Linked DNA regions of Homo sapiens: all the other regions are linked to region 1. The links are contacts of gene promoters, found by promoter capture Hi-C in blood cells and fetal thymus (Javierre and others, 2016). All regions are on one chromosome and are shown on one strand. The core of a region is centred on a gene start or on the middle of the fragment in contact, and the rest is flanking DNA. Distances in the headings are between cores, read along the strand shown. Region 1 holds the start of MTCH1 (mitochondrial carrier 1). Region 2 overlaps TBC1D22B (TBC1 domain family member 22B). Region 3 overlaps TBC1D22B (TBC1 domain family member 22B). Region 4 overlaps TBC1D22B (TBC1 domain family member 22B).

Region 1 (4,251 bases), core at 615-3,114:
CCTACGGGTCTAACTGGTTTAGCTGATCTATTTTTCCTTCAATTTCTTCACTTGGAGAAATTGTTCGATCATTTAGAAATACTTTACTGAACATGTACTATGTGCATAGTCCTATATCTGATGTTGTGGAAGATACAAAACAATGCAAGACAACACAAAGTTGCTGCTTCACATGAAACTACAGTTTGAAAGGGCCAAATACAGTATAGGCCCAAAGTTAGGTGACCATGTAAGGCAGAGTAAAAGGCTCAACGGTGAACAGCCAAGTTCAGAAAGAAAAACAGACAGTTGGAGAAAAATGGGGACGAAAAGCCCAAAGAAGGAAAAGGTTCCTGTGAGGAAGTTTCAGAAGGATGGGGAAGTAAATCATCCTCCCCTACCCCCACCCCCCACCCCCAAACTAAAACCTATCGCCTCTTCTGGGTAGAGAGTTAGTGTGGCACTAGGAACTTGACTTTGAGGTCCTTATTGAGAAAGCTAAATCAGAACCTAGGCAAAAGGAAGTCATTTAAGGTGCTCCTGGGGGATGTTTGATGAAAATTGTGTTTGATGGAGAAAACACAGCAAGTTGAAAGGGTTAGCAGGCTTTGCAAGTGATTTCACTAGGACAAGCCTGGGTTAGGGAGGCCAAGGTGAGGGAGAGAGGGAGTGTGGCATGCTTTGAACGTGGAAAGTACATAGTGTTCATTATCAGGAGTGGGAAGAGGGGAGGTAGCTTTTTAGGGGGTAAGGCAGGAAGGGAGTTAGAAAGGACAGACTGGGAAACCCGGACTAACAGTGGCAGGTGTCGATCTAAAGAAATTTCTCACAATGAACTGGCTATAGACTAAGTACAGACAAAGGGACCAGGTCTTCCATTGCTGTGTCCCTGCACACTCTAGGATCCGTTCAAACAGAAACTTTTATTGCGAACCCCCAAAACTAGCACGGTTCTGTTGTAGGTGTTGTTGCAGAGTGTCGGGCACGTTTACAAACAGGAACAGGGCACTTGCTGTCCTATCTTCCTCGCAGGGTTCTTGTGACGATTACACTTAAATCAACACGTATAAAGCATTTTAAAAAGTGCCTGTCACATAGTCCCTGCAATTTAAGGTCTAGTTGTGATTATTCACTTGTATTAACTAAGAATCAACTACAGGCGCCTAGCAGTGCCTGCATGTGCTCACACTGAGGCACTCACTAAAACCCTCAGGATCTAGTGAGGGAGACAGTCAAATACTTTAGAGCAAAACAAATTTTACAACCACGGACTCTGAGGAAGGCGTGCGAAGGCTCCACAGCTGGGGAGGGTGCCCACAGTCGCCGAGGGGACATCTGGATTTGCTCTGGTTGGGAGAGCATTCCTGGCAGAGGAGATGGAAAATGCGATCGGACAAAGAGGCTGGGACCGCGGAGGGGATCGGGCTCGGGGTCGGGGCTCGTCCTGCAGCAGGAGATTCAGCTCGCGCAGAGTTCCACGCAGGCCGCGGCGACTGGGATCTGGGCCGCAAAGGGGCGGGCAGAGAACTGCAGAGAAAACTCCCGAAGCCAGGGAGGTGGCTTGGAAGCGCCTCAGACCATATTGGGGACGTCTGGCAGCCAGAGGCGCCGAACCCCGCCCCCGCGTGCTCTGGGCATCCCGGGGGAGCGCCCCGGCCTGCGGCTGCCGCCACAGCTCCCGAGCCCGGGGCCCCGGCTGCCCGCCACCATTGACCCCCGGCCCGCAGCCCAGTGTCCTGCTAGGCCTCCAACCGGCCGGGGAGCCACATCCGGCGTGTCCCACCCGCCGCACCACGCTCCCGAGCTCCCCCGCGGCCTGGAGTGGTGCGCCCCGGCCCCGCCCCCTGACGCCGGTGAGGGGGCGTGGCCCCGTCACGTGACGGGGAGTGACCTCGCCGCCGGGCGCCATGGGAGCTTCGGACCCGGAAGTGGCGCCCTGGGCTCGCGGCGGTGCCGCGGGGATGGCGGGAGCCGGAGCTGGAGCCGGAGCTCGCGGCGGAGCGGCGGCGGGGGTCGAGGCTCGAGCTCGCGATCCACCGCCCGCGCACCGCGCACATCCTCGCCACCCTCGGCCTGCGGCTCAGCCCTCGGCCCGCAGGATGGATGGCGGGTCAGGGGGCCTGGGGTCTGGGGACAACGCCCCGACCACTGAGGCTCTTTTCGTGGCACTGGGCGCGGGCGTGACGGCGCTCAGCCATCCCCTGCTCTACGTGAAGCTGCTCATCCAGGTGGGGGACCAGAGGCGCCGTAGGGAGATGGGAGGCTGATGTGAAGGTGACAGGCCAGGATTTGGAGGATTGGGGCGGGCAGTCAATGGCGACGGATTTGGGGAGAGGGGTGGGGACGGCGGGTTTGGGGGGCCGAGTGGGTGGGATGGGAGGGAAGCCGTGAGGGAGTTGGGAACGCAGGGGTCACGGGTTTTAGGATACAGAAAGGAGACCAAGGGGTTAGAGTAATAACAGATACGGGAGAGGGTGGAAGGAACAAGCGATTTGGGGGAGTGCCAAGGAGGGAGCGATGGGCTGGAAAAACATATTTGGGAGATAAAGGAGTGGGGACGATGGACTTGGGATAGGGAAGGGAGCGAATTTGGGGCGAGGGAAGAAGCAATAGAATTGGGGGAGGGGCAAGAAGTTTGGGTGAAGAGATGGGGAGGAAGGTTGGGGGCCCAGGCAAAGTGTTTAGAGAATGAGGAGCACATAATTGGGGTAGAGGGGAACGGAGGCTCTGGATTTGATAGAGATGGATTTAAAACGTCTTGGGGTGGGGACAAAGTGGGCGCCAGGGCCAGAAATTTAGGAGGGAAAGAAGGACACCAGACTGGGGGTGGACAGAGGAGACGGAGGTCTTGGGTTGCATTGTGATTTAATTTGGTGGGAGAGTGCGAAGGCAAAGACTTTTGCAGGGGAATGCTATCGGTTTACCGGAGATGGGGGCTCTGGATTTGATGGCGACGACGGATTTGGTAGGAGGAGGGGACAGGGTGACGCGTATGGGGGGAGGGGAACAGATAGGGCCAGCATTGGGGGAGGGGAGTGGCAGCGATTTGTCTAGAGAGGGGAGCTAGGAGGAGGCTTTAAGCGGGGAAGGGGGATGACGCATTTGGAGGAGGAAATGGAAGTCATAGTTGGGGTCAGAGAGAGGAATCACAGTGCTTGTATCTGGGCAGATGAGGAGAAGGGGCACGGGAGTATTGAAATTGGGCAGAAGGGACAGTGGAGACATAGGTGGCAGGATAGGTAGGGACTACCAGAAATTGAGACCGAGGTAGGGATGTCTCTGGAACAGAGGGATGCATAGGCACTTGGCAGATTTGGTGGTGGCCAGCAATGCGGTACAGATGAAGTGTGCTGCTTGAGGAGTGAGCTGGAATGAAGGGCGTGTGGAGGTGTGAGAATTAGGTGGGTGTGGCTGGGATGGGTACAGTTTTGATGGGGGTCATTAGGCCAGAATTTTCCAGTTAAGAAGCTTGGGGGGAGGAAGGTAAAAATTGAATTGGAGACCCATCCAAGATTTGAGTTGAGGCAGGTGGGTGTCAGATTTTACCATCTTTATAATTGAACCGAGAGAATGCAAAATACAACTGGAATGAGAAGGCCTTGAGAATGAGAGTAATTGAAATCTGGGATCCGAGGAATGGTAATAGATTTGTGGGTGTGACCAGGAATATGACAAGGAATGAGGAGATTCAGTCAGGGGCATCAAGGTGCCTGACTAGACCCTAATTGTGACAGATTTGAAAATTGTTGATGGCGGAAGGTGTAGACCAGACTGGCATTTGGTTGTGATTTGGGAATGAGGGCTGTCTTACAGGGTTAAGATTGTATTTACAGCAGTTGAACTTGAAGTTTGGGAGATAAATTGGTGCTTTGGACCTGAGAAGTGAGGGTTCTGGAAACTGATGGAATGAGACTGAGTGAGGGCTAGGATTTTAGGGCACAGGTGGGAGAGTCTGTGGAGTGAAGGATACTGGAGCACAAGGGCTCAGTGTGAGGGAAATGAAGAAGTGGCTTCATCATTTGGATGATGGCAGATCTGGTTTGAAAGAACATTGAAATGAGGGTGGTTTGGGAAGGGAATGGGGGAATGAAGGACACCAAAGCGTGAGAAGAACTAGATGGTGGGCAGGTAAGGATGGATGAGCCCTGTTGAAGGACCAGAGGTGCCTGTCTGATTTGAACCCAGCTGGTGTTGAGTGTAACATATATTAGGGTAAGATCTTCAATGGGTATAGTTTGGGAATCAGAGTAATAACTTGCAGAAAGGCAAATT
Region 2 (4,251 bases), core at 1,095-3,594, 330 kb before region 1:
ATGTTCTGGGCTTCGCTGCTGCTGCTGCTGCTGCTGCTTTCCCGAGATGACTTTTTAGAATAGAGTGACCAGGTATTTGCTCAGGCGCCTGTCCCCTCTGACTCAGGCACACGCTCTTCATAGAAATATTATCCTAGAGTCAGTTTTCAGGCCTCCTATGGGTTGCTTTATTCTGTACAGAGTTTCTGCCTGCTGCTCATCTAAGTGCCCACAACTGGGCACAGCTCATGCTCGTCTACACGTGCAGTGAATTTTTGACTTCTGGAGGTGTTCCCCTGCTCCCCGTTGTAACCCCTTGGTTTTGGGTTGTAATTATGTGGTGCTGCACTGACCACAGGGGGCTTGTCACGCCTTTCCTCATCACAGAACTCACTCAACCAGTTCCTGTCCCGAGGTCTGACATTAATCTGCTTTGGGAAGTCTTCCCCAAGTCTGACAACTGCAACCTGCCTTGATGGCATATTCTGCCAATGGGTGTTGGGAATAAAAACATGTTTTTATTACAAACACCTATGGGGATAGCAGGTCTCTCAGCACTCACAGGCTCCAGCCTTGTTCCCTCAAAAGTTCCCTTTGCTTACTTCCTTTTTCTTTTTCTTTTTTTGAGACAGAGTCTCACTTTGCTGCCCTGGCTGGAGTGCACTGGCACGATCTCGGCTCACTGCAATCTCCGCCTCCCAGGTTCAAGCGATTCTCCTGCCTCAGCTTCCCGAGTAGCTGGGATTACAGGTGTGTGCCATCACACCTGGCTGACGGAGTTTCACCACGTTGGCCAGGCTGGTCTTGAACTCCTGACCTCAGGTGATCTGCCTGCCGTGGCCTCCCAAAGTGCTGGGATTACAGGCATAAGCCACCGTGCCTGGCCTCTTAATTCCTTTTTCTAGGACCAGAGTGGCAACAGGAGGCCCTGACAGGCCTCCTATTGCTAGCCCAGATGGCCCTGTCCTCTGGGCAGATACAGTCCTCTTCAGGCTCACTGCTGGGTAACAGAAGCTCCATTCACTTCCTTAGTAGTACACAACTGTACATGGTGGTAATGAATTGTGATTATGTAAAAATGACCCACATCAAAATGGGTAGAAAACATCTATTTGTCTATTTGGTAGGTAGGTTCGAGCGCTCTTACATTGTCTCCACCATTTACTTTCCTCCCAACCTTTTGAGGGTGGACTCATGACATAAATCTTAAGCATGCAGGTTGATGACTTTTTACATAAGTACACACCCAATTAACCACCACCCAGATGAAAACAGAGAACACTTCTTGTGTCTCAGAGACTCATGCTCCTCCCCAGTCAACACGGCCTCCCCAGCCACTGATCTAACAGAAGCCTGAGAGCTCCACAAGGGCCCAAGCAGGCTCTAGGACTCCACAGACAGGCCCAGAGCTGCTCTTCACCCATAACCTGCACCAGCCCTGGGGGCTCCCTGCTGCAGTCCACCCTGGAGCATTAGAGCCTCTGCTTTCCCCAGGGATGTGTGTTAGGTGATTTCAGGCCACTTGGAGGGAGAGCATGAAAGGGCAGCAGGAGATCACAGATCTTTCTGGCAGTGGAAGGAGAAAAACCCAGAAGCCAGAATAGGAGGAGGTCACAAGGAAGACCCTGGGAGGAATTCTTTTTCAGTTTTAAAACAACAAGTTTTTGTTGTTGTTGCTAAATGTTTCTTTGTGAGAAGAAAGCCTGCTAGCAACCTCCAATGTAGGGGGAGAGATGGGGAAGAAGAAATCTTGAGGGAGGTGGAAACCTAAGCAGATCCTTGCCTGGGAACAGCCACCATGTAAGTTTAGCTCAAGAGCTCCAGGAAGCATCTGGCAGGCCTGGGACTGACAGGCAGCAAAGCACAGTGGTTCAGAGAGTGGATTCCAGGCCTCTATCACTCACTCAGGTGACCTTGGCCTGGTTACTTAAAAAAAAAAAATCTTGCTATGACAGTTTCCCCATTTGTAAAATGGGGTATTATAGCCTACCTTGTAGGATTGTTGCAAGGATGAAATGAATTAACACAGGAAAACATTTAGAATAGTGCCTGTATATTCAAAGTGCTAAGAATTAGCTGCTATTAGATTGAGCCTCACGAAATTGCCAATATTCAACCATTTTAATCTACAAAAACAACTGCATATGATTCAACCTAACATATTATTATGATTCTATTACACTAGCCCAGGCTGAGGGCAGGAATTGTCAAGAGTCCCCACCTACCACAAAAGAGGCTTTGGCCCAGCTCTGCTGGCAGCTCGCATTTCAAGCTGCCACGGGCCCGGAGGATCCAGCCATTCTGCTCCCAGAGTACTATGTGCAAATGTGCCTCAGGCTCCTTTGCCCAGCGGTCTCAGGAAGGAAACCTCTCAGTGTGATCTCCTTTGTCAGTTTTTGGTCCTCTCTGCCAGGCAGCGGCCCTAGACAACTGCTTGGCCAGGGAGAAGCACGCACCCTTCCTGCTGGGGGCTTTTGTCGCAGCTGGGACCCAGCCCTTTGCCCCTGTGTACTCTGATGCCTCCTCTCCAAACCAGTTTCCCTCAGTATGAACCTTGTATGGTTTACTCATTATGTTAAAAACCACTTAATTAGAAAAGTGGGTTTTTAAAGCTCGCCTCATTGCTTCCAGGACTCGTGAATACACTAAAGGAAGTATTAATATTAATGATAATAAGCTCACTGTTTCGAGGTCTATATATCAAGTACACTATTCTAACTGTCTCACATGTATTTGTTTCTTTATTCTCATCATAGCCCAAGGAGGTAGGTACTATTGCCCCATTTATAGATAAGAAAACGGAGGCACAGAGAAACAAGTTACTTACTTACAGCTGCATGTTTAGGAAAGTGTGAGAGCTGGGATCCGACCCCAGGCAGTCTGGCTCCAAAGACCATGGTTTAACCACTGTACTACTCTGCACAGTCCCTAACCTTGACAGGAAGATATCTGCTTCCTCTCTGAACCCCTTACTGGCTCCCTTTATATCTGGCTCTTTTTCCCTGTTCTTCAAGTGTAACCAGTTTGCTGGTCTGCTAAAACTGCTGCAACTACCACTTTTATTTCTGTAACCACTTCAGCTGGTTTTTCTCTGAGTCACTTAACGTGGCTTTTAGCCCTAAAACTTCTCTCCTAGGCTGGACATGTTTGGTTTTTTACAATACCTGTATTCATCTACAGAGCTTCCTTCACAGTGATTTCACTACAAGCAGCCCTTCAGCAGTTAGGATACATGTGCCTACTTTCTCTGCAAAAGTCACACCCAACAGTTCACAACCTTACACAATGCTTTGTGCCCTTGTTCCTCACACCTCTGCCATGATTCTGTCTCCTAAAGGACACTGCCTGTCTAGCCTAACACCCAGGCACATTTTCTTCTTTTATCATTCATAGAATTTTAGAACTATGGAGGTGGGAGGAACTTTTCACCTTATCCAGTTTAATCGCCCATTCTATTTTGTCTAAAAGAAAGATGTGAGACTCTTCCACAAACAGGATTAATCGAGGTGTTAATACAGCAGCAGACAATAGCCTCCAATGCTGTTCTGTTGGGTATTGCCAAAAGGCCTCAGACCTACCAGATAATTGAAAATGCTACCCAGTAAAGAATATCTCTAGGATTAACATAGCTGTAAAGTCACAGAGTATTGTCCTCTGTTCTGCCGATATTGTGAACTGCTAAAAGCCATTCCAGGAATCATCTGCACCTCCCTGAGCTGATCTGGGAAGCACTTTTATCACATATGGCAAAGCTCTGAGCCTGGCTCATGATAACTAAATTAAACTTCATGCTCTTACTATCCGGCTCCACCTCAACCACATTATCCAAATGGATAGCTCATCCCAGCATACAGCCATTCCAGCCCCTTGTCCTCATTTATCCTGGAATGCCACACATGCTGCTCACTGGCAGAAGCCATGGTTCTTAATCAGTGGCCTGAAGCCTCGGCACCATGGCTAGCATCTACTCACAGAAGTCAATGCATCTGCTCTCCTTTTTCTTCCAAAGCCCTTACTTGGGCAAGCTGGGTCCTGTCTTTCCATCTATCTACTAAATAGTCTTCTGTTCTTTTGCCCCCTAACACCAATCACAGAGTGGTAATGCTCAGGGATCACATGGAGACGCTGCCACTCTTCAGAACATCTATGTTATTAGTTAGAACTTAGAAAAGCATTCAACTTTCTCTGGCTTTTCCCCCTGCTTTTAAAAGAGGTATATACCTATTAAAAACAAACAAACCAAAAAACCTCTCAGTTCAGAAACGTGCAAAG
Region 3 (4,251 bases), core at 996-3,495, 320 kb before region 1:
GAGTCCCAAATAGGGTGGCTGCTAAAAACTCAGCATCAAGCCCACTCCCCACCAATTCCCTCCAAACTAACAACATTAAAGTGGAAAATTCTTACTATATGATTCAAATTAGATAAAGCTTAGAAATAGGCAAAACTGACCGGGCGCGGTGGCTGACGCCTGTAATCCTAGCACTTTGGGAGGCCGAGACGGGTGGATCACGAGGTCAGGAGATCGAGACCATTCTGGCTAACACAGTGAAACCTTGTCTCTACTAAAAATACAAAAAAATAATAGCCAGGCGTGGTGGCGGGCGCCTGTAGTCCCAGCTACTCGGGAGGCTGAGGCAGGAGAATGGCGTGAACCCGGGAGGCAGAGCTTGCAGTGAGCCAAGATTGCGCCACTGCACTCCAGCCTGGGGGACAGAGCAACACTCCGTCTCAAAAAAAAAAAAGGAAATAGGCAAAACTAATCTAGGTGTTAGAAATCAGTAAAGTAGTTACCCTTGTAGGGGCAGGGGAGGAGAGGACGGGGTAGGGACTAGGAGGGAACACAAAGGGACTTCTGAAGTCCTAGAAACGTTCCACGTCTTGCTGTGAGTGCTGGTTATTTTGGGGAAATTCATCGAACTGTGCATGTATGACAGATGCACTTTTCTAAATGTATGATTTAATATGAAGTTCACATTTTAAAAAGCAGAAAAGGAATGGCCTCTTGAGACAATAATAAAGTTTGTCCAGTTTCATCTTTGGCCTAGCCAGACAGGGAGGAACAGACTGGGCAAAGCTGATGCAAAGAGTCAGATGTAAGATGGAGGATGCCGCCTCCCAGGACTGAGCGTGGGGGGCGAGCACAATCCACAACAGCCCAGGAGCAAGACAAGACAACAGGATCCACACTACCTTTTCTTTGAAAATGTGAGTGTTGACTATCAAAAATTAACTGCACAGCTCCCTCCCTTACCTCCTTCAGGGCTCTGCTCAAATGTCATCTCCTCAGTGTGAAGGCGGCTCACCACCCGGTTTAAAACCTGCCTCCTGCTCCCACACTTGCCAGCATGGCACATCCCTGTCCCTCTTTCTTGCTTTGTTTCTATCCATAGCACTTATCTCAATCCTACAAATATCTGTTTTTTCAGTTGATTGTCTGTTTCTGCCCACCAGAAATTAAACTAAGAAAGCGATTTTTTTAAAAAAGTAGAATTACGCATAGTAAACTGCACATATGTGCACAGTTCTATGAGTCTTGACACATGTTTATGTCTATGGTTTAAAAAAAAAATGCCCCCATCCAAATAGAGAATATTTCCATCACCCCGGAAATGTTTCCTTATGCTCATTCTCAGCCCACCTCCCACCATAGGTAAACTTTGCTCTCATTTCTATCGCCATAGATAAGCTTTACCTATTTTTAACTCCATATAATGTGAATCATACAATATATATATTTTTTGGTATCTGGCTTCTTTCATTCTGTTTCATGGTTTCTGAGACTCTTCCATGTTGCTGTACTACTAATAGTACGTTCTCATTTATTGCTGAGTACTGCTCTGTGGTATGGATATCTGTTCTCATATTAGCTGATATTAGGGTTGTTTCATTTTATGTCTGTATAAAGTTGCTGTGAATATGTTTGTGCATGTCTTTTGGGGCTATAAGCCTTCATTTTCCTTGAATAAATACCTAGAAGTAGAAGGCAGGGTTTTTGTCTACTTCGTTTATGGTCATAAACCCCAGTGCCTAGAGCAGTGCCCTGCACATGTGGGTGCTCATCAAAGACTTGTTGACTAAGTGGTGGTGCTCCACCTCCATCCCTTAGGGGAGAGAGAACTTTCGGCTAATTCAGCACAGTATCAGAAAAGTGTAACTCACTGCCCTCCAGTGGCCAAGCCTAGTGAAGCTGTACTAATTTCTGAGTATTCTGCAGTTATGGAATTTTCATTCTCTCATTCATCTGGACATGTGTGGAATGCCTATTTTGGACACCAAAATGAAGGTACTGGGGATATGAAGATGTTTAAAATACTCTTTGGCCTCAAAGAATCAGAAAGTCTGGTGGCAGAGAGTAGGAGGGAAACACAAACAACTAGCGAGGTAAAGTGCCACAGGAGAAATCTACAGAGTGACAGAAATAGCACTATTAGATGCCGGGGGTCAGGGGGACCCCAGGGAAGGCTTCTAGGAGGAAGGGGAGTCTTAAAGGGTGCACAAAGATTAGCTCAGGAGATAAAGAGGTGGTGCAGGACAAGGCTTTACATTTACAATGTCCATTTTGGATTGTTGAGTTTAAGGGGCGAAGCAGGGAGCAGGTCACAGGGCCTTTACATGCCAAGTTAGAAAACCTGGACATTTAACCTATAGGTGATGGAATGCTAAGGAAGGATTTTTGTCAGAGGAGTTCTGTGGGCGAGTCTCTGTTTGAATGGTGTGCAAGATGGGTTTGAAGGAGATAAAACCGGGGGTGAGAAAACATGCTTGGCTGGTTCAGCAATCCAGGCCTGACCTAGGGCGTGCATAGTGAGAATGAAGAAGAAGCAGATTAAGAAACATTTAGGACGTAAAATCACCAGAGCTTTGTAAATGATTGGATATGGAAGAGTAAGGAAACAGAATCATGAACAATTCTTAGCATTTCTGACTTAAGTGACAGGAAATACTGCCAACTAAGAGAAAAGGGTGCCTGGGTAAGGGAAGGAGAAGAGCCAAACACCGAGTCTGAGGAGCCTAAGAATAGCAAAGATTGCCTAAAAATAACTGTTCCCTTCTTCCTCCTTGGTGACAGGACCCCTAAGTGTATTGGCCACCTAAGACAGACTGTTTCTCAGCCTCACTTGCTGCTAGGTGTGCCCACGAGATTAAGTTCAAACAAAAGAGAATCAAGCCCCAGAGTCATGCACAGCTTTCAGAAATGTTCTTAAACAGAAGAAGTATGCCTTGCTTCCTTTCCTTCTCCATACTGGCTGGAATATTGATGTGATGGCTGGAGCACAAACAGCTCTTGGATCATGAGAAAGAAACCACATGCTGAAGACTGCAGAATGAGAGAGAGCAACCTGGATCTCTGATATTTTGGAGCAGCAGATAAGCCCCAGATCACTCACCTCTGGACTTTTAATGTGAGAGAAATAAGCTTTTCTATCTTACTTAAGGAACTGTTACTTGGGTTCCCTGTTATGTGCAGCCTAGCTAATCCTAAGTGATCATCTATGACATAATCAGGTGGAAATGCCATGTAGGGAACCGGACACAAGTCAGAGGTCTGCGGAGGACTTCCTTTCCGAGAGTTCCACTGCTGTCATGCTTCCAGGTAAAATCTACGGTGAAAATCCTACTGTGCTGTTTTATGCAAAGGAAAAGAGAAAAGGTTACTTGATAATTGGTGTTGCATTTTGTACCTAAAAATATCATCAGACACCACTCTTCTTTTGAAAATAGGAAACATCATAAGTCCTGCTCTTCTCCATGACTTCCTTATATGAATCACTTCTGTTGTTCCTGTTAAGCAGTTTATTTTGATGATGGCTGCATGGTCAATTATATTGGACCTCAGTAGTTCAGAGCTAGACTAATATTGCCTAAGCCTAAAAGCTCTTGGAGGAAAGAGTTTAGAATTATACCACAGTCTCAGAGATAAGATTCCAGAGACTTTATCTCCCCAGGGGTGACCTCCCCACCTGCAGCACTGTCACCACTAGACCCAGACACAGCTGGCTTATCTGCAGAGGACCCACTTTTACAGGAGCAGCTGGCTTCAGCAGATAAAGAAGCTGCTTGGGGGCAAGGCTAGAGCTATAGACAACTTCTCTATCAACTCACAGGGGAATCACTGGAACTCACTGTTTCCAACTACTTTACAACAAACATAACATAAAGCATGAAGCAGGCTCAGGTACTAATTTTTAAAAGTGATAGAGGTGGTAGAGAATAGGTAGGGGAAGAGATATGAGAGAAGCCAAATAATGTCCCAGTGGCATGTGGACCCCACGGCTCCACTAGGGCAGATCCCCTATGCTATGATTCAGTGAGATGGGGCAGTGGGGTAAGGATGCCTGGAGAGACCTACCCAGGATAATGAGGGCAACTGCTGGCCTGTTCCATGAGAAAGATACTTGAGGCTTCCTACAGTAGGGAGAGTCACACCAGGAGGGCCATAGCAAAAAACCTTTGACAGCAGCTGCCTCATCCAGATACGCCAACATGAGAGAAGTAGAGAAGAGAAGCATCATTGCCCAGACAAAAAAATGATGCTTGCTGGCCACAATGTTGTATCTAT
Region 4 (4,251 bases), core at 773-3,272, 300 kb before region 1:
ACAGATTAAGGGTTTTTTCTTATTGCTCTGAAGTCTGTTTCACTCTGGGCTGGCATGTATGTAGCAGGTATGATCCAAGTAGGTACCCATCTTTCAGAATCTTACTCATCAACAGTTCCTAAGAACTAGAAGAGCTCAGAAAGCTGCAAAAATGTCCTAAAATAGGGAACCAGAGATGAACTTGCTTATGAAGTCATGATGTGTAAGAAGCGGGGAAGGGCCAGGGCGATGGCTCACGCCTGTGATCCCAGCACTTTGGGAGGCTGAGGCGGGTGGATCACTTGAGGTCAGGAGTTTGAGACCAGCCTGGCCAACATGGTGAAACCCCGTCTCCACTAAAATTACAAAAATTACATGGTGGCTCATACCTGTAATCCCAGCACTTTGGGAGGCCAAGGTGGGTGGATCACCTGAGGCCAGGAGTTCAAGACCAGCCTGGCCAACATGGCGAAACCCCATCTCTACTAAAATTACAAAAATTAGCTGGGTGTGGTGGTGTGCGCCTGTAATCCCAGCTATCCAGGAGGGTGAGGCAGGAGAATCGCTGGAACCCAGCGGACAAAGGCTGGAGCAAGCCGAGATTGCGCCACTGCACTCCAGCCTAAGTGACAGAAAAAGACTCGGTCTCAAAAAAGATAAAGAAAAAATTAGCCGGGCCTGGTGGCACATGCCTGTAATCCCAGCTACTCAGGAAGCCGAGGCAGGAGAATCACCTGAATCCAGGAGGTGGGGGCTGCAGTGAGCCAAGATCACGCCACTGCACTCCAGCCTGGACGACAGAGTGAGACTCCATCTCAAAAAAAAAAAAAAAAAAAAAAAAAAAGTGGGGAAGGACCAAAAGGAGTTGGCCTTCAGTAACTGAAGCTGAAAGTTCTTACTTCTGTTACCTAAGACATCACTATAGTCCATTTCAACTCAGGGATTTCCCAGTGCCCAGTCTAACTATGCAAAAGACTGTGTCAGCAGCAGCAGCAGCAGAGGCTACTTCAGTTCTTGAGGCTTGTTGTAAATAGCTGCCCACCTTCCACTTTCTGCAACCCCTGGCCTACTCTTCTCCTCCCTCCACATGTGATGTTGGGAGCAGACCTTTCCGCAGACCATGAGGACCATTATGGGCAATGACAGAAGACTCCCTGACAAGACTACTGAAAGCTACAGCTCCTACAGTCACAGATGCCAAAACAGCAGTGCAGCTGCCAGGAAGACATACTGATGTCATAGTCCAGAGGGACTGGACCACGGCTAGGTAAGCTTGTCTTTCCTCTCCATGCTCGATAACGCTTACTACTCACAGTGTGGTTGGTGGACCAGCAGCAGCAGCATTGCAAGGGAGCACATCAGAACTTCAGGCTTTACCTGAGACCTGCTAAATCAGAATCTGCATTTTCTCATAATCTCTAGGTGAGATCTTATCAAGATCCTAGGTGATTTGTATGTACATTAAAGTTTGAGAAGCAGTGCACTGACTAGTGCCAAAAAAGTCTGTCTATTTAAAATGGCTAAAATCAGAGTTGCTGAATGAAAAGAGGGGAAACAGTTTTGAGGATAAATTTAACTCCTAACCAATATACCACAGCCTGAAGACTTGGAAAGCCTGTACCCTGAGAGCACTACCATGAGACATACCTAAAGTATATGACTGGTAAGCAAAGAGGCAGCAGGTGGTGACTGTACCTGTCTGTAGGTATCCTGGTGATGTTCCTCGTTTCGAGAGTCATAATACTGTTCAATGAAGCCAAAATATTCCTCCCGCTTCCGCTGCAGGGTCAACTTCCTCCTCTCAGTGTTTGCTGGGAGATAGCCCTATAGACAAGACTGCTGGTCAGATGGGGAAAGACAATGGTTGGATAAATCCTTAATTTTTATTTTAATCTATGCAGTGGTTTGGAAACTACCAAGAAGGAAAACTGCCAAGGGTAAATCCCTTTTTGGTTCTGGCCACCCATTTTTTGCCCTCTCCTCATTCAATGAGATCCACATGTGAGCAGATGAAGCAAGGCCAGCTTTCCCAGGATTATTTACTCCCTTGGCCCTGCACTGTGCTGGAGCTTGTGCCACTGGTGAGCACTCCTCAGCTCCCAGAGCTGGCACAGTACAGCAGTGAATGTAGGTCAGTGGGAGGGAGCTGGACCCAAGTCATGGCCTCGGAGGGCTGTGTGTGTCCAGGGCCATACTTCTGAGAAATGCAGGGATATAGCAACCTCTACAGCACATCTCAGCAGTGTGCCAAGTAAGTTGGTGCCAGTTACATTCTTTTCCAGTGTAACTTTCAGAATTACCAGCTTAGGAAGCAGCTGAATGGAATCTGTGACATACAGCTACAACACTCAGACAGAACTTCTGGCAGCAGCCCCCGGCCTAGCCAAAGCTCCAGGCCAACTTTCATTCTTATCCCTGGTCTAGATCCCACTCTCATTCTTATATTTTCTGTTCCCCTTCCGTTCTCACCAAATCTACTCTGAATAGTATTCAAACTTATTAGAAGTGGCAGAGGCAATGATTGCATGGTTGCAAGAGTAGAGGTGGGGGCGAGCAGTCAGGAGACAGACCCTTCTTCTTGAAAACATTTATGTAATGCATTCTGCAGTGAGTGCCTGGAGAGTGGGGACTGTGGTTTATTCATTTTTGCATCTGCTCAAAGCATCTGGCACTATGCCTGGCAAACAGCAGGCTCTCAATAAATCCTCACTAGATGAATGAATGAATTTTACAGGCTCAGGAAACCCAAGTGTTTCTATCATAGCGGCTGGCACAGTGCTCTGTACTTGGTGAAAGCAGGACTAGTAAAGCTTCCAAGGGAGGCCAATTTATCAACTCTTCACAGATCAAAGTGGGTTTCAACTTTTGGTTATTCCGGCTGAAACAGGAGTGAAGCACAGGGAACGTTGGAGCTTACTCAAAGCAAGTGCTGGGATCACCCTATCTCACTCTATTCTTCTTCCTCGCTGTTAAGAACATGACACCATGACTATTGGTACAAGTCTGTGTACCACTACATGTGTGTGAATAAACTCTCAAGAATGTATTTCTTTATGCACAGAAATAGGACTATAGTCCCATAGTTCTGTCATATCCAGTAGGACTAGAGAAGTCTATGGAGTTAAGACCAATGTGTCCAGACTAACCTCATCAGGCAAGAAGGGCTGTGTGAGGCTCACATTTCTCTACACAGTGGGTAGAACTCACCGACAGGAGTCTCCAGGTTATAGGTCGAACCTCCCTGGGAACCCCTGGCCAGCTACACTTCCTCAGTTCATCTGTAAATAGAAAACAGCCTTGTTAGGTTAACTCTCCACAAATGCTCTAAAGCAAACCGCAACCAGCACTGCCTGATGTCTCCTTCCATCCATGTAAGACCACCACCACCACCTGCTACCCATAAGCACAGTGAAAAGCCCAAAACAGCCCCGAGCAGCTAAGTGCCAAGGACACGGCCTTGCAGTAGCAGTCCTGTCAGCTCAGAGATGAAAGTTAGAGGGGAAGGGAAAGACCAGTGGGTGTAGATTTCAGTAAGAGTCACCTTGAGATAAGGAAGACCAAAGTCAGAATAGTTGCACTAGGGTCTACAGGCCACAGAAACCAGTCCCACCTAATTTGGTCCATAATCTCTAGTAACATATGTCTGACTTAATACCTGCATGTCACTGCAATGGGCACCAGGTCAGGAGAAGCTAGAAAAGTAAAAGAAGGAAGAATAAAGAGCAGTAGCTTCCAGGTCTCTGAGAATTCCAGTCACCCAAAGCTCCTACCTTGCCTGGGCTCACAGGGACTCACCTAAGTCAGTGTTCTGGCTGGAGAGAAGTTGACGGAATTTTTCTAGGCGGGTTTTCTCCCGGACAGTCATTGGGGGGGCCCCAGAAGCGTTCTGATCCGAGATCCGGGCAACGAGGGGGATGATGGGCCGGAGAGGGAGTGATTGCTGTTTGTGGAGTGGGTTCCTCAGGCATGTATCACCTGAGATCATTTGAAAAAGAAAGAGAACGGGCTGTGTGAGGAGTATGGATTCTGAGAAGCCTTAAACCTAACCGTTCAGCATTGTGTTTCCTCCCCAAGGGTGTGGCTGCCTGTGTGCACTGTCTGAGGTGCCCAGCTGAAGGGCAGCGAGGGGCCAGAACCCAGCCACACCCCATTCACTGCCCAGAGAAAGGGCTGCATTTATATCAAACACACCAAGGCACCTTAGGTGGTAACAGAGACGCCAGATGCTGCAGCAACTTTTGAGAACTTTTTTGGTGACTCTAAAGGTGCTAA

What was found. Contacts are between HindIII fragments. The CHiCAGO score rates a contact against its expected background, and 5 or more counts as called.
Region 2: a contact is called between a fragment that was not itself captured here and the fragment with the promoter of MTCH1 in region 1, in 1 of 17 cell types (erythroblasts). The highest score is 6.2, in erythroblasts.
Region 3: a fragment that was not itself captured here is called in contact with the fragment with the promoter of MTCH1 in region 1 in 2 of 17 cell types (erythroblasts and megakaryocytes); the score reaches 7.0 in erythroblasts.
Region 4: a fragment that was not itself captured here is called in contact with the fragment with the promoter of MTCH1 in region 1 in 1 of 17 cell types (erythroblasts); the score reaches 5.3 in erythroblasts.

What each region holds. Positions count from the first base shown.
Region 1 is chr6:36,983,809-36,988,059 of GRCh38, reverse strand. It overlaps MTCH1 (mitochondrial carrier 1), which reads left to right and starts at 1,864. Exons shown (of 12, transcript NM_001271641.2): 1 at 1,864-2,207. The coding sequence starts at 1,887. RefSeq lists enhancers at 1,260-1,469, 1,588-2,310 and a silencer at 1,560-2,149. The HindIII fragment of the contact is 16,171 bases long and covers 1-3,449 here.
Region 2 is chr6:37,318,870-37,323,120 of GRCh38, reverse strand. All of the region lies in intron 12 of TBC1D22B (TBC1 domain family member 22B), which reads right to left. Among named protein-coding and RNA genes, the nearest start is that of RNF8, 33 kb to the left of the region's middle. The HindIII fragment of the contact is 6,431 bases long and covers 1-4,251 here.
Region 3 is chr6:37,301,706-37,305,956 of GRCh38, reverse strand. All of the region lies in intron 8 of TBC1D22B (TBC1 domain family member 22B), which reads right to left. Among named protein-coding and RNA genes, the nearest start is that of TMEM217B, 46 kb to the right of the region's middle. RefSeq lists a silencer at 1,727-1,776. The HindIII fragment of the contact is 1,731 bases long and covers 1,380-3,110 here.
Region 4 is chr6:37,281,888-37,286,138 of GRCh38, reverse strand. TBC1D22B (TBC1 domain family member 22B) reads right to left here. Exons shown (of 13, transcript NM_017772.4): 4 at 3,775-3,954; 5 at 3,187-3,257; 6 at 1,675-1,803. Among named protein-coding and RNA genes, the nearest start is that of TMEM217B, 26 kb to the right of the region's middle. RefSeq lists an enhancer at 11-60. The HindIII fragment of the contact is 1,538 bases long and covers 1,254-2,791 here.